Regions from separate parts of the Homo sapiens genome. Here all the other regions are linked to region 3. The links are contacts of gene promoters, found by promoter capture Hi-C in blood cells and fetal thymus (Javierre and others, 2016). All regions are on one chromosome and are shown on one strand. Each heading gives the region's core, a stretch centred on a gene start or on the middle of the fragment in contact. The rest is flanking DNA. Distances are from core to core; before and after follow the strand shown.

Evidence for each region. Contacts are between HindIII fragments. The CHiCAGO score rates a contact against its expected background, and 5 or more counts as called.
Region 1: a fragment that was not itself captured here is called in contact with the fragment with the promoter of FRRS1L in region 3 in 1 of 17 cell types (erythroblasts); the score reaches 9.0 in erythroblasts.
Region 2: a contact is called between a fragment that was not itself captured here and the fragment with the promoter of FRRS1L in region 3, in 1 of 17 cell types (erythroblasts). The highest score is 5.5, in erythroblasts.

Annotation. Positions count from the first base shown.
Region 1 is chr9:109,098,255-109,100,954 of GRCh38, forward strand. The region is part of intron 3 of TMEM245 (transmembrane protein 245); the gene reads right to left. Among named protein-coding and RNA genes, the nearest start is that of TMEM245, 20 kb to the right of the region's middle. The HindIII fragment of the contact is 2,592 bases long and covers 41-2,632 here.
Region 2 is chr9:109,080,076-109,082,848 of GRCh38, forward strand. It overlaps TMEM245 (transmembrane protein 245), which reads right to left. Exons shown (of 18, transcript NM_032012.4): 8 at 764-868. Among named protein-coding and RNA genes, the nearest start is that of MIR32, 35 kb to the left of the region's middle. The HindIII fragment of the contact is 656 bases long and covers 1,005-1,660 here.
Region 3 is chr9:109,165,958-109,168,660 of GRCh38, forward strand. It overlaps FRRS1L (ferric chelate reductase 1 like), which reads right to left and starts at 1,292. Exons shown (of 5, transcript NM_014334.4): 1 at 944-1,292. The coding sequence starts at 1,181. The HindIII fragment of the contact is 4,411 bases long and covers 1-1,544 here.

The sequences.
Region 1 (2,700 bases), core at 87-2,586, 68 kb before region 3:
CTTGCTAATGGCACTAAAATATGCAGTAAATATGCAGTAAAGCTTAGCTACATCAATGGAAACTGCACTATTTTTCTAGTTAATACACAAATGACTCAGCACATTTTTCGAGCACCTCAGACTTCACAAAAGCATGAAAGGAGTAGCACACAGAGAAAATAAACAAAGTATTTGAAAATTATGAATATAAGATTTGGCAAACTGCTTTTATCCAACAGATCTGTATTTTAATGACTTCTGTCTCAATGATACCCTTCAGCACCTCAAAAACCACAAGGAATTGGCCTGGAATCAGAGTCCAAAAAAAAAAACAAAAAACAACAGTCCAGGCAGGGAGATGATAAACTGAACAGAACAATGCCAGGACTGAGAATCTTGGCCAAGTTGTGGTATTAGAATGGTATTGTATTTAAAAGCCACAGCTAAAAATAGGCACATAAACAAGGGAACATAATCTTGGGACTCAAGGACTAAAGAAAAAAAAGGAAAGAACATCCAAGGTTTCAGGTATCAATCTACCCAGAGACAGGGCCAGCATTAAGCAGAAGCCAAATAACAGGGATCTACACAAATCCAAACAAGCATGCTACTGACATTAGCAGCCTAGCACCAGGGGGCAGAAACTCAGAGTCCGGCACACAAGAAAGAGACCACAGGTCAGACAGTGTCTGTTAATACAACAACTCAACGATGAGCAGACTAACTTTTTTAATAAGCATGGGTAAATATACTTTAAATCCAGTCTAAATAAGGAGATACTTCTTGATCCACTCCATTCTTTTTCACAGGGATAGCAGCAGTTACCAGAAATACATCCAAACATGCTTATTGGAAGCAGGCACCGCATACCAAATAACACCTCCCCAGCCTGCAAAGTTCCCTTTGAAGAAGGCTTCTGTTTCCATTACTAATGTGGAAAATACAACTCCCTCTCAATGGCTTCTAGTATCACGTCACAAGGGCCTGGAGATGGACCAGTAGACTTTTCTCTAGGCCTGTTTAACTTGCAGTATCAGAAGTGGGGACTGGGAGGGGAGCAGTAAAACATTTGGTTTGCTCCCTTTTTCCAATTTGGGCTTGACTGAACCAAACTTGTTCACTCATATCTCATGCTATCCCAAAACAAGTAAGGCAACTATCAGGATTCATCTCTGCAAAGACATTTCTAGTCATTTACAAACAATTACCAATGCCAGGAGGAACAGCACTCAGCTGTACTTGCTGGTACTTCTCAGGCTGGGTATCCAGGCTATTATAGATATATCTGATGATTGTTTCACTAACTTTTGAAGAAATTTCTTATACTCAGAGAAAATGGCTCTCTGAGCCTAAGTTTCTTCATTTGTAAAATAAGCATAACACCAATCTCACTAGACTGCTTAAAAAAAACTAAGAGTATTTTTAAAGAGTCTAACACAGCCTTACTTATAGGAGATAACAATGCTAGTGTACCTCTTTCCTCAGACGCCAAGGGAACATACTGAACGTGGATTCCAGGTGCTATGGTTTGAGTGTTTGTGCTCCAAAACTTATGTTAAATTTAATTGCCGTTACCACAGTATTAACAGGTGGGACCTTTAAGAGGTGATTAGGCCATCAGGGCTCAGCCCTCATGGGTAGGATTAATGTCATTATAAAAGGGTGAGTTCAGCCCCAGCCATCTCTTGCTCGCCCTTGTACCACGTGATGATACAGCAAGAAGATCCTCACCAGATGCCAGCACCTTGACATTGGCCTTCTCAGCCTCCAGAACTGTGAGCCAATAAATTTCTGTTCATTGTAAGTTTCCAAGTCTGTGTTACTCTGTCACAGCAGGACAAAACAGACTAAGCCATAAGGTTTCTACTAAGTAAGGTTTCTGGGATCTAGGAGGCAAGGAAGCTAGGTCATGTAGTTGTGTTAAGTCAACAGGACCAATATGGAAAACTGAAGGAGCTGACAACTACAACTGATGCAAGAAGGATGAGTACTCAATACTTTTTCAGGATGACTGACACTTACTCAAAGAGCCTGGGGAGGGGAAAGAACGCTGGGCTTAGGGTCAAGAACCTATGTTTATTTATTTATTATCATTATTATTACTTTTAAGACAGGGTCTCACCTCTGTAGCCCAGGCTGGAGTACAGTGGCATGATTACTACTCACTGCAGCCTTGACCTCCTGGGCTCAAACAATCCTCCATCTTCAACCCTCCCAGTAGCTGGGACTATAGATGCACACTACCACACCCAGCTAATTTTTATTTTATTTTATTTTTATGTATTTATTTATTTTCTGTAGAGACAGGGTCTCACTATCTTGACCAGGCAAGGTTAGTCTTGAACTCCTGGGCTCAAGCAATCCTCCCGCCTTGGCCTCATAAAATGCTGGAATTATAGCATGAGCCATTATGCCTGGCCAAGGACCTAAGTTTAAATCTTAGCTCCACTAGTCACCTGTGTGACTGCAGGCTAGTCAGTTAATCTCTAGAAGTATCTTCATCTGTAAATGAAGATACCATCTATCTTACAAAGATTTATTTGTTTGAGTTCTGTTTTGTTTGCTTGTGGATTTAAAAAGATAGCACATTTAAAAGCACTTGAAAGTTCTTGGCTCATGACAGGCACTTAAATATTTTTCCCTTATTATCTTAAGCTTTTGGGAAATACTATGTTAGAACTTCTCAGGTCTAAGAGAAAACCACTGAGTAAGACCCTTGGG
Region 2 (2,773 bases), core at 83-2,582, 86 kb before region 3:
AATTAGATTATCAATTATAGTTACCAACATGTCTCTATGGGAACTAAAGGAATAAAAAAAATTTTGTATCCATGATTTCACATAAGCTTCACCAACTCCTTGAAAAGAACATACCAAAATCTGGGTTGTGGAGTTCAATACGGTTCAGATAAAATAAAGATTAAAATGTACCATAAAAGTGGGGGGGAAATCTTGTCAGACTTGATAAGCCTAAAAAAAATAGTAAGAGATATCACTATAAAGATAACATTTTAGGTGTTCTTTAGAGAATAATTTTCTTTGATGAGATGAAAATGGGGAAAGGAAATGTAAGCTGGAAGGACCTGGAAAGCGAGAAATAAAGGTGCTATGGTATATATCAGCAGAAGGATCAATGAGACAAGGATGGAAGGTGGTAATCAGCAAATTCTGATCTAGTGAAGAATACTAACTAGATTAGAATTCATAAGACCAGATCCTAATTCTCCTATTAAACTAAAAAAAACAAGCGCCACTTGTTCTTCATTATCTCATTTTTTTCATTTGTATTTACTCCCAAGGGTTTCGATAAAATAAAAATGCATGTAAAAGAGGTCTGAAAAGAAAATATACTAGGCAAATTCATGGCAAAATTAGTAATATACAAATCATAAATCCTTTAGCTATTGTACATACTTTTAAATCAAGTTAACATTTTCCATGCCCCTTCTGCTAGCTTTTAATCCAGACTACAATTCTAACAATTAAGGGTTTATTAATGAGAATAATAATCACTGTACTCTACCTTTGCAGTCAGGAGTAGGGCTAAAAGAAGAGTTCCTATCACTAACAAAAATATGATGAAAATGCTAATTATTTTATCTAACATCTTCTCCAACCAGATGATCATCTGCACAAAAACGAAAAAGAGAATTACTTATCTTTAAAGTAGAACTTTAAAAATACATATACTCAATTGTCATAAAGACAAAACAGGATCTCCAGCATGGCAAAGCAAATTATGGCATAATAATTAAAGCAATAAAAGCTTTAAGCAACTTTAAAAACTTCACAGTACTCATTACTGCTGTTGTTATATAGTTTATTACTGTCATAGCTAAGAAAAAGGCAGTCGATTTCAACATAATCCATATCTATGTTCAAATTCTCAAACTATAGGATATCTATGTTTCAAATTGTAATTTATAACCTGGTAAGTATTCTAAACAAAATATTGACAATCCATTAGCTGACCTAAAATCTTATGAAGCTGTATCATCAGTTTAACAAATACACACGACTTTAGCAAAAGTATATACAGATAGTATTTATAATACTTATAATACAGGCATGGACTAAAAAATACAGATAAAATTGGAGCAAATTAAAAGAGGAGTTGCATTCAAAATATTTTTTCCATTTGATATCATTAGAATTACAAAAGCAGTAATAAAAAAATCTAATGTTAAGGCAATGACAAATAACAAAGATAACAGTTGCCCAAGGAGCGAGGGGTTGGGAGGTGAATGCACAATCAAGGAGGGGCACAAAACAGCCTTCAGGTTAATTTGTTTTATTAAGGGGGGAGTCATTGGTAGATAGTCTTTACATCTTTTTATGTTTGAAATATTTCATAATACATAATAAAATGCTTTTTAAAATCTGATATTCTACTTGAAGTTTCTATTCTTCTGAAAACATAAGCTTTATGACATGACTATAATTGATATAATCAATGTAGTAGCTGTTTCTTAATCAGTTATTAAAACTGTGCTTTCCCTAAATGCTATCTGACATTATCTTGCTATAACTTCCTTCATCTTTCACAACCACAAATAATCCTACATTTTAAACAACTTGTGTTTTCAGAATATATACTTGATAGATTGCTAGAATTCCTTTCATGCAAAGCTACCATCTAACATTTCAAAACTACATTTAACTAGATTAATAACTGCTGAAACACCACAATGCACTGCTCAACCCCAAGGTGAGCAACAGCATTGCTAAATAAGTTATTCTTAATTTAGATCTGATTTATGCTCTCCAGTGAATTAAACATCCAAAAGCAAAGAATGTTGGTTAAAAAAACAACATGAGTTCTGCAGCATTTACTTTCACTTGACGTTTATAAGCTTGTGCCCCCCTTATCTGTTTTTCATCAAGGGCACTGTCACTAAGAGATCAATGCTAAAGTGAACTCAAAGATAAAAAGTTAATCTTTAATCTTGACAATTACAGCTTCAAACAGAAGAGTTAATTTTCAGTGCATGCTACCAAGGCATCAAAGACAATGCAGAGACTTAAAAAAAAGGAATAACAGGTTTCTAAGATATGGAAGGTCAGATGTCATATTCTGAAGTTAAATTCTAAAATCAATGAAACTGAAAACTTTCAATCAGAAACCAATTGAAAACTAGTTATCAAGGCAGCTTCCTGGGGAAAGAGCTAGGTTTGTATCACTCCTCTTTGTATCTCCAAAATCTAAGTGCTTAGCACGTGGTAAGCATTCAATTACTATGTGTTTGAATAAGCAAGCATAAATAAAATAATTTCAGAATTAAGACTGTATTTGTATCCACAAATTACAATTTCTGAAAATAATGTAGAGCCTCTATTTTTTTTTTTTCAGAAAAGTCATATCCTGAAATGTATTTTTAAATGTAAATGATATTCTACTTAGAAACATGTTTGAGTATTTTTAACATATAAAACATAGAATATTCAAAAACATATTAGGTACATTAACATTACAATATCCAATTTTTTAGTTTTAAGTTAGGGTAAAATTTTTCTATCACAAGCCATAAAGGTT
Region 3 (2,703 bases), core at 42-2,541:
TATTTCTAGTTTTCTTTCTGTAAGAGAGAAACTTCTATCTTGTTGAAGCTATTAATGTTTGCTTGTTGTATACAGCTGAACTTAATCCTAACAACAGACACATCCACTAACAGATATGAGCTCCTGGGACTCAACACTTCAAACCCCAGCTTGATGGTTGGATATCCCTCTTAGCAGAAGAAAAGGAAAGTCACTACTTCCCAAAGTTGCTTAAAGAGGCCAGTTTCCATTCCTTCTGACCACCATCCGCTTGGCTTTTGTGCTCGTTGAAGCAGCTCTACAGGGAGGCCCTTGGCTGACAAACTCCCAGTCTGCGGGCCCAGCAGGCCACAACAATGGTGGCTCGCACTAGGGGACCATAACATATGTGGCGTCATAAAAGAGGAGGGATGGGAGTGGGGAGGCTGATGTGACCCAGCTCTGACGGGTCAGTGAGCAGGAACAGAATGCTACGAGGTGGGCGCTGGTCACTGCAAATTTAAGTCAATACAGACAGGGAGGAAATAAGGCAACCTCTCTCTTTAGGTTGGGGTTTTTCTGCTTCCCCCTAGCTGCCCTGGCCAGATGGCGGCCTCCTCCCCTATAACCCAACCCCAGGCGGCAAAGGTGGAAGCCAGATCTAAGAACTGGGGGAGCTTAGACTCAGCACCCACCCCTATCCACAGCCTTGCAGAACTTGGATGACCCCTCCCTCTCCCAGCCTCACTCTCCCCATCTGTAAAGCGGGCGGCAGGCATTGACAGCTCTTTGGGCCTTTCCTCCAGGCCGGCGGAGGCCTGGGCACTGCGCTCCCCATCCTGGCCTCGCCTCTGCAAGAGCTGCCTCCACGGACATCTTTTCCGACCCCCTCCCCCTCCCTCGCCCCCTCTCCTCGTTCCCCCGATCCTCGGTCCCCCACCCCCGGTCTCCCCTCCCGCAACCCCTCGCCCTCCCGCAGCCTCACCCTCCTCCGACAGGTAGCGCAGGTCGTAGAACTCCCCCGCGAAGGTGCCGTAGGAGGAGTCGTGGCGCGGCACCGCCTCGTCGGCGCCCGTGTCCCCCCGCGCGCGTCCCCGGGGTCCCCGGCCCCCCGGGCCCGCACCGTCGTCCGCGGGGCTGGCTGCGCAGGCGGCGGGCCCCGTCAGTAGCAGCAGGAGCAGCGACGCCCAGACCCCCGGGTGCTGCCGGGGCGGCCGCGCCATCCGTGCGCACAGATCCCGCAGCCAGGCCGCTCGGGCCGCAGCGGGGGCGCCGCGGGCGCGGGCCGGGACTGAGCCTCCGCCGAGGCCACCAGCACGCGCCCGCGCAGCCGCGGAGCCTCCCGCACCCCCGCCTCCCTGCCTCGGTCTGCGCATCCTCGCTCCAGCACCGCAGCCTCCCCCTTCTTCTTGGAACCCCCCTCCTCCCCGCACCGATCTCTCCTTCCTAGCAGCTTCCCTTCTACCGTCCTTCTTTCCATTCTCCCCATCTCCCCGACTTCCCTCCACGCAGGCAGATTTGGCCCTTCTGGCCCCTTGCTACTCCGGAGTGTGGTCCGCGGACCGGCAGCATCAGCATCACCTGGAAGCTTGTTAGCATCGCTGAGGCCCCACTCCAGACCCATGAAGCGGGATGTTCATTTCATCAAAATTCCCAGGAGATCCCAATGCACGTTCAATTTATGAAACGCTCCTCTAGAGAGTTTACCCTGGACACACCTGGTCAGTGCTGCCTCCTCAACCTTGTGCCGGCACTTTTTGGTTTACATAAAGCACTTGCTAGACCTATTATTTCTTGGATCATCACAGAAGGAACTTGAAATTGCAAGACCCCCACAATAGAGCTAGGTAAACTGAGGTGTTTAGAGACAGAGAAAACTGGATTCACCTGCTTCCTCTCCAGGCTCTTGCGGTGTGTAATCAACAGAGGCTGGTGCCAGTAGGTAACCTGTTCCCCTTCAAAACTAGGCTTCTGGTTTACTCTCTTTCCCTGCAGCAAGCACGCGCAGGCCTTGGAAGGCCCACACCGTATCTGAGGGCCATGCTGAATTGTTGATTTTTCTCAAATCCATTCCTGCTGCTTGCAGTTCACTTTTGGCTATTTACTCAGCCATCCATTGATTCACACCAAGCATTTGCTTTATGGCAGGTCCCAGGGTTCTCTTTTGATGATGGTTGTTGGGGTGATATATTCGAATTGCTAAGCTGTTTTCCATCAGAGAGGCGGACGCAATTCCTTTCAGGCTGGTGTTGCAGAGCCAGCATTTTAACCTGCTTTTCCTATTTTATTATTTTATTTTATTGCATAAACAAAATAATTATGGAGGCAGAAAAGCATAGAGGTCCCAAATGCAGACCTAGAAGTCAGACTGCCTGATCTCTCATGATTAGTCATTGACATGATGCAATGAAGATTAGGGAAGATCATAGAGGTAAGGATCAATAGGGTTCAGTGCTGTAAGTGGCATGCACACATGTACACAATATTGTGAAATGTTAATATTCAAAAGGAAACTAGTGATCTTAACCCTTTATGGCCTGATTGGCTGAGAGATAAGGGTAGTGCTGTTGAAACAGGGGAGACATGATGGGGGACTTAGAAGTCAGGTATTTTCTATTAGGTATCAGCTAACAGTGGGCTGTCCAACTGGAATTTAAACATATTAATCCTGATGGCTGAATTGAGGTGTAATTCATGAAAACCTTGGGCTTCACTAGGTCCCCCAACATAGCAGTTGTCACAAAA